2 separate regions of the Homo sapiens genome follow, and region 1 is linked to region 2. Evidence: promoter capture Hi-C in 16 types of primary human blood cells and fetal thymus (Javierre and others, 2016). All regions are on one chromosome and are shown on one strand. Each heading gives the region's core, a stretch centred on a gene start or on the middle of the fragment in contact. The rest is flanking DNA. Distances are from core to core; before and after follow the strand shown. Region 1 overlaps LOC124902152 (a long non-coding RNA gene). Region 2 holds the start of DNAJA1 (DnaJ heat shock protein family (Hsp40) member A1).

Region 1 (3,758 bases), core at 174-2,673, 3.4 Mb after region 2:
ACCCCTTTAGAAAATTAAAGGAGTTCTCTGCCATTTCTAATATATTAAAAATTTATACATGGGCCAGGTGCAGTGGCTCACACCTGCAATCCCAGCACTTTAGGAGGTCGAGGTAGGCAGATCACCTGAGGTCAGGAGACCAGCCTGGCCAACATGGTGAAACGCCATCTCTACTAAAAACTACAAAAAATTAGCCAGGCATGGTGGCACGTGGCTGTACTCCTAGCTACTTGGGATGCTGAGGCAGGAGAATCACTTGAACCCAGGAGGCGGAGGTTGCAGTGAGCTGAAATCGTGCCTTTGCACTGCAGCCTGGGCAACAGAGAGAGACTCTGTCTCTTAAAAAAAAAAATTCATAAATGGATGTTTGATTTTATGAAAAACTTCTGTATCTACAAGTTAATCATATGACTTTTCTGTTAATATGTGAATTTGATTGGTTTGGGGGTGTTAGGAATTCACATTTCTAATCAGCCCATTTTAGGCTTACTGTATTGCTCTAAATGGTTGATTTGGTTTGTTTAGAATTTTTGCTTCTGTGTTGAGTGAGTTTACCTGTAATTTTCCATGTTTATAATGTCCCTATCAAGTTTTGTTACAAAGACTTATGCTAGCTTCAGAAAATGAATCAGGGAGTACTGGCTTGCTTTCTATTCTCTAGAAGTGTTTCTTTAAGACTGGTGTTAACGCCTTCTTTAAATGTTTGGGAAAATTTGCTGGTTGGCTAACTGGACTTGGAGTTAAATTTCCTTAGATGTCCTGTTTTTTCTTTATTTCTAACTAAGGCAAAACAACTGTAATCTTAGGATATATATATAAGAAAGATCTCATTCTGAAATTCACTATCTGCTTCTAGAAAACCATTTCCCAATCTTGTGAATTTGAAGGGTACCGTTGCTACAAATACATTTTAAAACACACTAAACAATAATCATAAACAAATTTAAATAAGTGCTAGTTAATAGTCTGTCAAATGGTAAATATACAGTTTATTTTTGTGACCAGTTTTGCATTTCTAGACATCAAGGAATATCTAAAATAATGGTTATCTGAAGGATCTTTTTACAAAAAAGTTGACTATGAGGTTACAGGCTGTCCTCCTTATCCCTCTACACACTTGTATCATAACACCTTACAGCGTTTATCAAATATCTGTTTCCTCCTGTTAAACTGTAAGCTCCTCAAGTCTCAGTTCTGCTTTGTTTGTATATCACTGACACCGATGTTGGGGGGAAGAATGGATGACGGAAAATGCACAAAAATGGAAAGAGGACCATCTCCTATTTTAAGGCATTGAAAGGCATGATTCAACAGCTACAGGTAAAGAACCACTTGTCCAAATGCTGAAGAACCATTCACATGGAAGGAAATGTCAAAGGAGGTGCTGGGGTAAAGAATGGCTTACCTGCTGGAAGTTCTGGACCTCTACTAATGAGAAGGCAGTTCCTCATTGGTTAACACTGTCAGTACTGTTCTGCCATCACATCCACATCCAAGTATCCCTACTATAATCTCACTCCAACAACCTCAATCTCTATTGCCGAGTTAGTGGCCTCTCCTGTGTGTTCTAAAATAGCATTAATCATTCTGCCTTCCAACTTTGTATTTACTTGACACTTCTGCCCAATAAATAGTAAACTTCTTGAAGCCAAGGACTAAGTCTTACCAAATCTGGCAAGGGGTTAGCACATACCATGTGCTTAATAAATAGTTCTGTTAATGATATGTAAATATTTCACAGCAGTGGCTGATTCTACGTTTCTCGCTTGGTAAATTCCCAAGGAGAAATGAAGCACAGGAACAACAGAAAGCGGGCAGTGAAAAGAGAGGAAAAGGGATGCAGAAAAAATAAATTTCAAAATCTTCCCTGAAGCTAGCTTTGCTGTCATCCCTAAGTTTCCTTTCTTCCTCCAAAACCAGCTAAAAGGACTGAATAACATAAAGCTGCACTGGGCCGGGCGCGGTGGCTCACGCCTGTAATCCCAGCACTTTGAGAGGCCAAGGCGGGCAGATCATTTGAGCTCAGGAGTTTGAGATTAGCCTGGACAGCATGATGAAACCCCATCTCCACCAAAAATACAAAAAAAACCCAAAAAACAAAAGATAAAGCTGCACTGAGGGAAAAGGCATATTGGCTGAACAGCATTTAGCCTACGCAGTATCTACAAGCATGCTACAACTTGATCTACTACTGCAAAACAATCAGCATAAGCAGTTTCACCCAGAAATGTTAACACAAATCAAAGTAGAAAAAGTTAATTAGTAGCAGCTGCCGGCTATAGCAGCTAGAGACCAGAAGAGGGCAGCAAAGGCTCACCCAAATCGAAGTCCACTGAAAGCCTCCCATATTATATAGCCACTTATCCAGCTTTGAGGTGAAGAGTTAGTCAGGTGGCTGTTTCCACAGTGCAGGTGAGAGATGACTTGGACTGAACCATGGTAGCTGGAATGACAGAGGGCAAGCTCATGGTAGTGAAGGTGTGAAGGGGCTAAAGCAGGTGGACAGTGAAAAGGCATCGGCCAGGAAGGAGTTCAAATGAAGAAACCTAAGTGCCTAGGACAGCCAAGTCAGAAGCAGAAAAACAGAGACCTATACCAATCAGAAGTGGAGACCCAAGGGCACAAATAAAGCATACACTGCACATCACAGCATATTCAACCTCTAGAACAGGGTAACCAGGCAGGAGCTGACCCTGAGGCAACAGGCCTCCACTAGATGGCCTGCTGTAACCTATACTCTTTGAAGCCACACTCTTGCTTGTTCTGTTCCGGAGAACAGACAGCACCTTGAGCTCAACTGTATGCTCCAGCAGCTTCATCTCAGGGGCAATCATATTCTGGCACTACAGTTTTTACCAAATCCAATGGAGACCCAGAGCACAAAAAAAAGTTAGCCACATACAGATCTAGGTTATTCTTTTCAACAAAGCCAATTCTTTCTTTGTTAGGGAGGAACCATCTCTGTATTTTTTTTAAATCCTGTATTACATTTAGGTTGTTCTCAGTGTTTTGCTATTACAAAGCTATTATTAATATTCTTGTACATACATATAGTTTGGCAAGCATTTGAAAATATATCCATAAAAGTACATTTCTAGAAGTAGAATTGCTGGTTCAAACAGTATGTGAATTTTCTTAAAATTTCAAGATATATTGCTACACTGCCTCCTAAAAGGCAGCATCAATTTTTTTAATTTTTTGAAACCTGTCACCCAGGTTGAGGTGCAGTGTCATGATCACAGCTCACTGCCCCCTTGAATTCCTGGGGGCTCAAGTGATCCTCCCGCCTCAGTGCTGAGTAGCTGGGACTACAGGCATACACCACCACAACAGACTTAATTTTTTTTTTTTTTTTTTGTAGAGACTAGGTTTCACCATGTTGCCAAGGCTGGCAATTTTTATTCAAAGCAAAGCTAACTGATCACAGTTTGGAGTTGACCCTGGAGGGGAATCAGTAGTTTTCAGGGTACTCCCTGAGGAAAGATAGGCTAGCCCTATGGACAGCAGTACGCCAAGCATCAGGAAGAGAGAAGCCCTGAGCAGAACTTGGACCAGTATACTTTTAGTGAAGCCATATTTCATATGCAGCTTTAAGTTCTCTTTGTTCTGATGCCCTTCTGTTAAATCCTTTATTAAATATTAATAGCCTAGGAACTAGGCCCAAACTATAATCTAGGAGCTGGGCCTAAACTTGAGCCAAAGTGACACCAGTGAGAACACCTTAGGGAAGCTGGTGACCAATGGGCCATGGGTCAAAG
Region 2 (4,037 bases), core at 1,538-4,037:
CTACATTCATGTTGACTCAGCAATTTCAATTCTAGCTGTCCATCCAACAGAAATACTTGCATGAGTACTCAAAGCTGTATTTGCTAATTTCTCTGCAGCAGTTTGTAAAACACTGGAAATTGCTGAAATATTCATCAGTAGGGGAATAAATTACGGTGCCTACATACTACGCCATTAAAAATAACAAGGCAGATTAGTTATTTATCCTGGCATAGTAAGATGACAAAGTGAAAAGGGCAAGCTGTAAACAGCTTGTATAATGATCCCATTTCTGTACAAACGAAGACCACATACAAAGTTATTGCCAGTTTTTTTATTTTATTTTACGTAAGAATGCTTCTTAAAAGTGTTAACTTTTTTGTTAGTTTCGTTTTTAGACAGGGTATTGCTCTGTCGTCCAGGCTGAGGTTCAGTGGTGCAATCACCACTCACTGCAGCCTTGACCTCCCAGGTCCATCCTCCTGCCTCAGCCTCCCAAGTAGCTGGGAGTACAGGCCCACACCACCACACTAACTCTAATTTTTGTAGAAACGAGGTCTTATTATGTTGCTCAGGCTGGTCTCAAACTCCGGGACTCAAGGGATCCGCCTGCCTTGGCCTCCCAAAGTGCTGGGATTACAGGCTTGAGCCACCATGCACCCCCTACTCTTCCTTTATTAGCATTTAACACTCAACTGTTTGTTTCTGGTTCCCTATGTTGTGAGCTCCTTGAAGGCAGGGACCACGACTTATGTGATTTTTTTTTTTTTCTGAGACTCGACAGAGTCTTGCTCTGTCAACCAGGCTGGAGTATAGCGGCACCATCTCTGCTCACTGCAACCTCCGCCTCCCAGGTTCAAGCGATTCTCCTGCCACAGCCTCCTGAGAAGGTGGGACTACAGGCACGTGCCACCATACCTGGCTAATTGTTTCTATTTTTAGTAGAGAAGGGTTTCACCAAGTTGGCCAGGCTGGTCTAGAACTCCGGATCTCAGGTGATCCGCCACCTTGGCCTCCCAAAGTGCTGGGATTACAGGTGTGAGGCACGGCGCCCGGCCTGACTTACGTGATTTTTGTATTACAAAGCCCTAGTACACTGCCTGGTAATATTAGACGTTTATTAACGGTTGGTTTAAACAAAAAACTTTATACCAGAGGTGATACTTGAGAAGGCAACACCTAAGATTGAAAAAAATCAGGTGTCTGTCAGCCAATGCAAAAGCATACAAAGGTGAAAAGGCGTATATGGGAAACTGCGGATAGTTCTGTGACTGGAATGCACAGTTAAAATTAATGAAAGAGAAAAGGCTGAAGAGGCAGCATGAGGATGCTTCCAAGGATAAAGTTCAAAATTCTTAGCGTAGCATATATACCAACAGACAAAGGCATGCCCTAACTAGCTTTGAAGCCTCACCTCCGGCTATTCTAGCTCCCTTAGCTATGGCTATATCCAATTAGTTGCAATTTCCTAAAAACATCATATTCTTCCACACCTTAGTATAGCCTTCCCCTGTGCTTTGTCCACTGCTCTCCTCCCATTTTCAAAACTCAGCTCAATTGCCACTTTCCCAAAGAAATTCTCTCTGATCTATCAGGTTAATATAGGAGGCTCTCCCCTACTGACTTCTACCTCATGGTTTCTCTGGCAGTCTGTTGACTTGTTTGGCTTCTCACTAAAGTCTAACTGGGGCTTTTCAACTCTGCATCTCCAGTTCTGTTTTTGTTTTAAATCGAGACGGGGTTTCACCATGTTGCTTGGGCTGGTATCAAACTTCTGAGCTCACGCAATCAGCCCACGCTGGCGTCCCAAAGTGCTGGGATTACACACGTGAGCCACCGAGCGTGGCAAACTCCATCTTTCTTGGTGCTAGATACTGACATACCTGCTGTGTCCCTGGATAAAGAAGCGGACCCCAATTCCCATTAAGCCCCCGTGGTACCATTTTCAAGTCCGAGGTCTTACGTTGCAGATTGTACATCCAGGTTCCCTGACCCGTAGGATTTAAAAGTGAGGTCAAATAATTAAACAAATTGTTTTAGTCAGACACTCTTGCGGCTACTCTGTAGCCAAACTGGGTGAAAACCTGACCAGAGGAGTCCACGGCCCTCTGTACATCAAAGACGGTCCAAACGTCTCACTGTTTAGCTCAGTCCCAGACACACTGAGCTCAATCTGCACGAATCAGCGAGGTCCAGGGCAGATAACATGTGTCTAGGGGCCTGGACTTGCACAAAAAGCCTTAACAACTTCACAATTTGATTAATTATGCCGCCTTGGACCACGCGTGAAAAACAGCAAGACCCAAGGCCTATGCTATTGGTCTGGGGACTAGACCCACCTGGCTCAAGCATTTTTTGCTCGCCACGTTCCCAAAAAGAGAAGAGGCGCCCGTAAGAGGGGGGGGGGGGGGGGCAAGACTGTTCCAAGAGCTTTCCCGTTCACACACAGCTCCCGCTGGGTCACTGTACTCGAGCCCTTCCCGCCCTCGCGGGCCCAGGCGGCCACCCCACAGGTTTGGGAACCCTAGGACTTGCAGTGCTCCTGGGCCATGCCCCACCAGCCGGAGACTTCCGCACTCTCAGGCTCGCTGAGTGGAGAAAAGGGCTCCAGAAGATTCCACGAGCGCCGGGAAGCCGCGCTAGCACCAACACCCACAAGGCCTTTCGGCGCAGCTCCTCCCGACCCGTGCGCCCCCGCGCCGTTGCCCAGGTAACGGCGGGGCGGTGGCAGCGGCCGAGAAGGGCGGGACTTCCGGCGGGTGACGCGCCCGGGTTCGGCTACAAAAGAGGACGGCTGCGGCGCGCCGGGCGGAACTTTCCAGAACGCTCGGTGAGAGGCGGAGGAGCGGTAACTACCCCGGCTGCGCACAGCTCGGCGCTCCTTCCCGCTCCCTCACACACCGGCCTCAGCCCGCACCGGTGAGTTTGAGCCCTCGCGCTGCCCCTAGTCCCCTGGCTGGCGCCATTGGCGCCGGGAAACCGATGGAGCCGCGGTCGGGAGGCAGTTGGCCGCGTGGGTAGGACCGCTGTCAGTTCCTGGGCCCACGATTTCCCTTTTGGAGGGCTGGTGTGGTGCCCTGGCAACCCATCCCCGGCACGCACAGTGAATGGGCCCGAGACCTTTCCTAGACCTCCCTCCTTCCCCAGCCTGGGATCTCCAAGGAGCTACTGTCTTCGGCTGCCCCTCCGTGCGCGCCCCCGCGGCCCCCCTCCCCGTCCGTGCTCGCTCGGGGTGGGGGGGGGGAGTGGGGTTGGCGACCCTGCGCACGCGCACAGGGAGGCAGGGGCGAGGGGCTGCGGGGGGAGCCGGGCGGAGACTGCGGCTTTTGGTTTCGCTTTCTCTGTTTCCCCTCCCTTTGTTTGTTGAGGGCTGGGCTTTCCCCACCGCCACTTGGGTCCAGGGTGGGAGGGAGAAAGGAAGGAAATCGGTCAGCGCCAAGTGCAAGGGGAAACCTGGCAGGTAAACTCTGCCAGCCTGAGGGGCGAGAGGGATTCGGCTGGAGAAGCTGTAAGCCGTGGGCGGTGGAGGGCTTGCTGTGTGGAGCCAGTAACCTGTTCTATAAACCACTCCCCCCCACCACTGTGTGCCCAGACGTCTTTTTCTGGAGAGTATATGGAGTTTATCAGATTTGCCAAAGACAGTGATAGTGTAATGACCGGTAGACTGAACATATCAGTGCTTCTTTTGGTTACAACTGTCACCGCCTCTAGGGCAAACGGGAAGAATCCAGATAATAGTTGTGTTATATTAGTATGGAAGCTTTGGTGTAGGAAAATTGGAACCAGCTGCTAGAAGGCGGCTCTCAGATTATTTCCCGATAATGATTATTTGTTTTGTCTGTTCGAGTTTATAGCTGAATTATCGCAGGAATTGTTACCTTTTTGGTGAAATTTAGGGAAGGTGGTGTTCTTATAATCGGATTTTGCAAAGAGATTGCTCGGCCTTAGCTCTCTTTTTTATTAAAAGCTACCAGTTGAAAGCCGGTTAAAGTTGCATTTTCTTATTTCAGGCAGTAGAAGATGGTGAAAGAAACAACTTACTACGATGTTTTGGGGGT

Evidence for each region. Contacts are between HindIII fragments. The CHiCAGO score rates a contact against its expected background, and 5 or more counts as called.
Region 1: a contact is called between a fragment that was not itself captured here and the fragment with the promoter of DNAJA1 in region 2, in 1 of 17 cell types (neutrophils). The highest score is 8.0, in neutrophils.

The regions. Positions count from the first base shown.
Region 1 is chr9:36,404,928-36,408,685 of GRCh38, forward strand. LOC124902152 (a long non-coding RNA gene) reads right to left here. Exons shown (of 2, transcript XR_007061475.1): 1 at 1-3,758. It also overlaps a transcript of RNF38 not described here. Among named protein-coding and RNA genes, the nearest start is that of RNF38, 6.5 kb to the left of the region's middle. The HindIII fragment of the contact is 7,166 bases long and covers 1-3,758 here.
Region 2 is chr9:33,022,486-33,026,522 of GRCh38, forward strand. DNAJA1 (DnaJ heat shock protein family (Hsp40) member A1) reads left to right here and starts at 2,788. Exons shown (of 9, transcript NM_001539.4): 1 at 2,788-2,898; 2 at 3,990-4,037. The coding sequence starts at 4,000. It also overlaps a transcript of APTX not described here. RefSeq lists enhancers at 1,628-2,223, 2,546-2,840, 2,818-3,412, 3,369-3,438 and silencers at 2,699-2,848, 3,129-3,268. The HindIII fragment of the contact is 3,848 bases long and covers 1-3,737 here.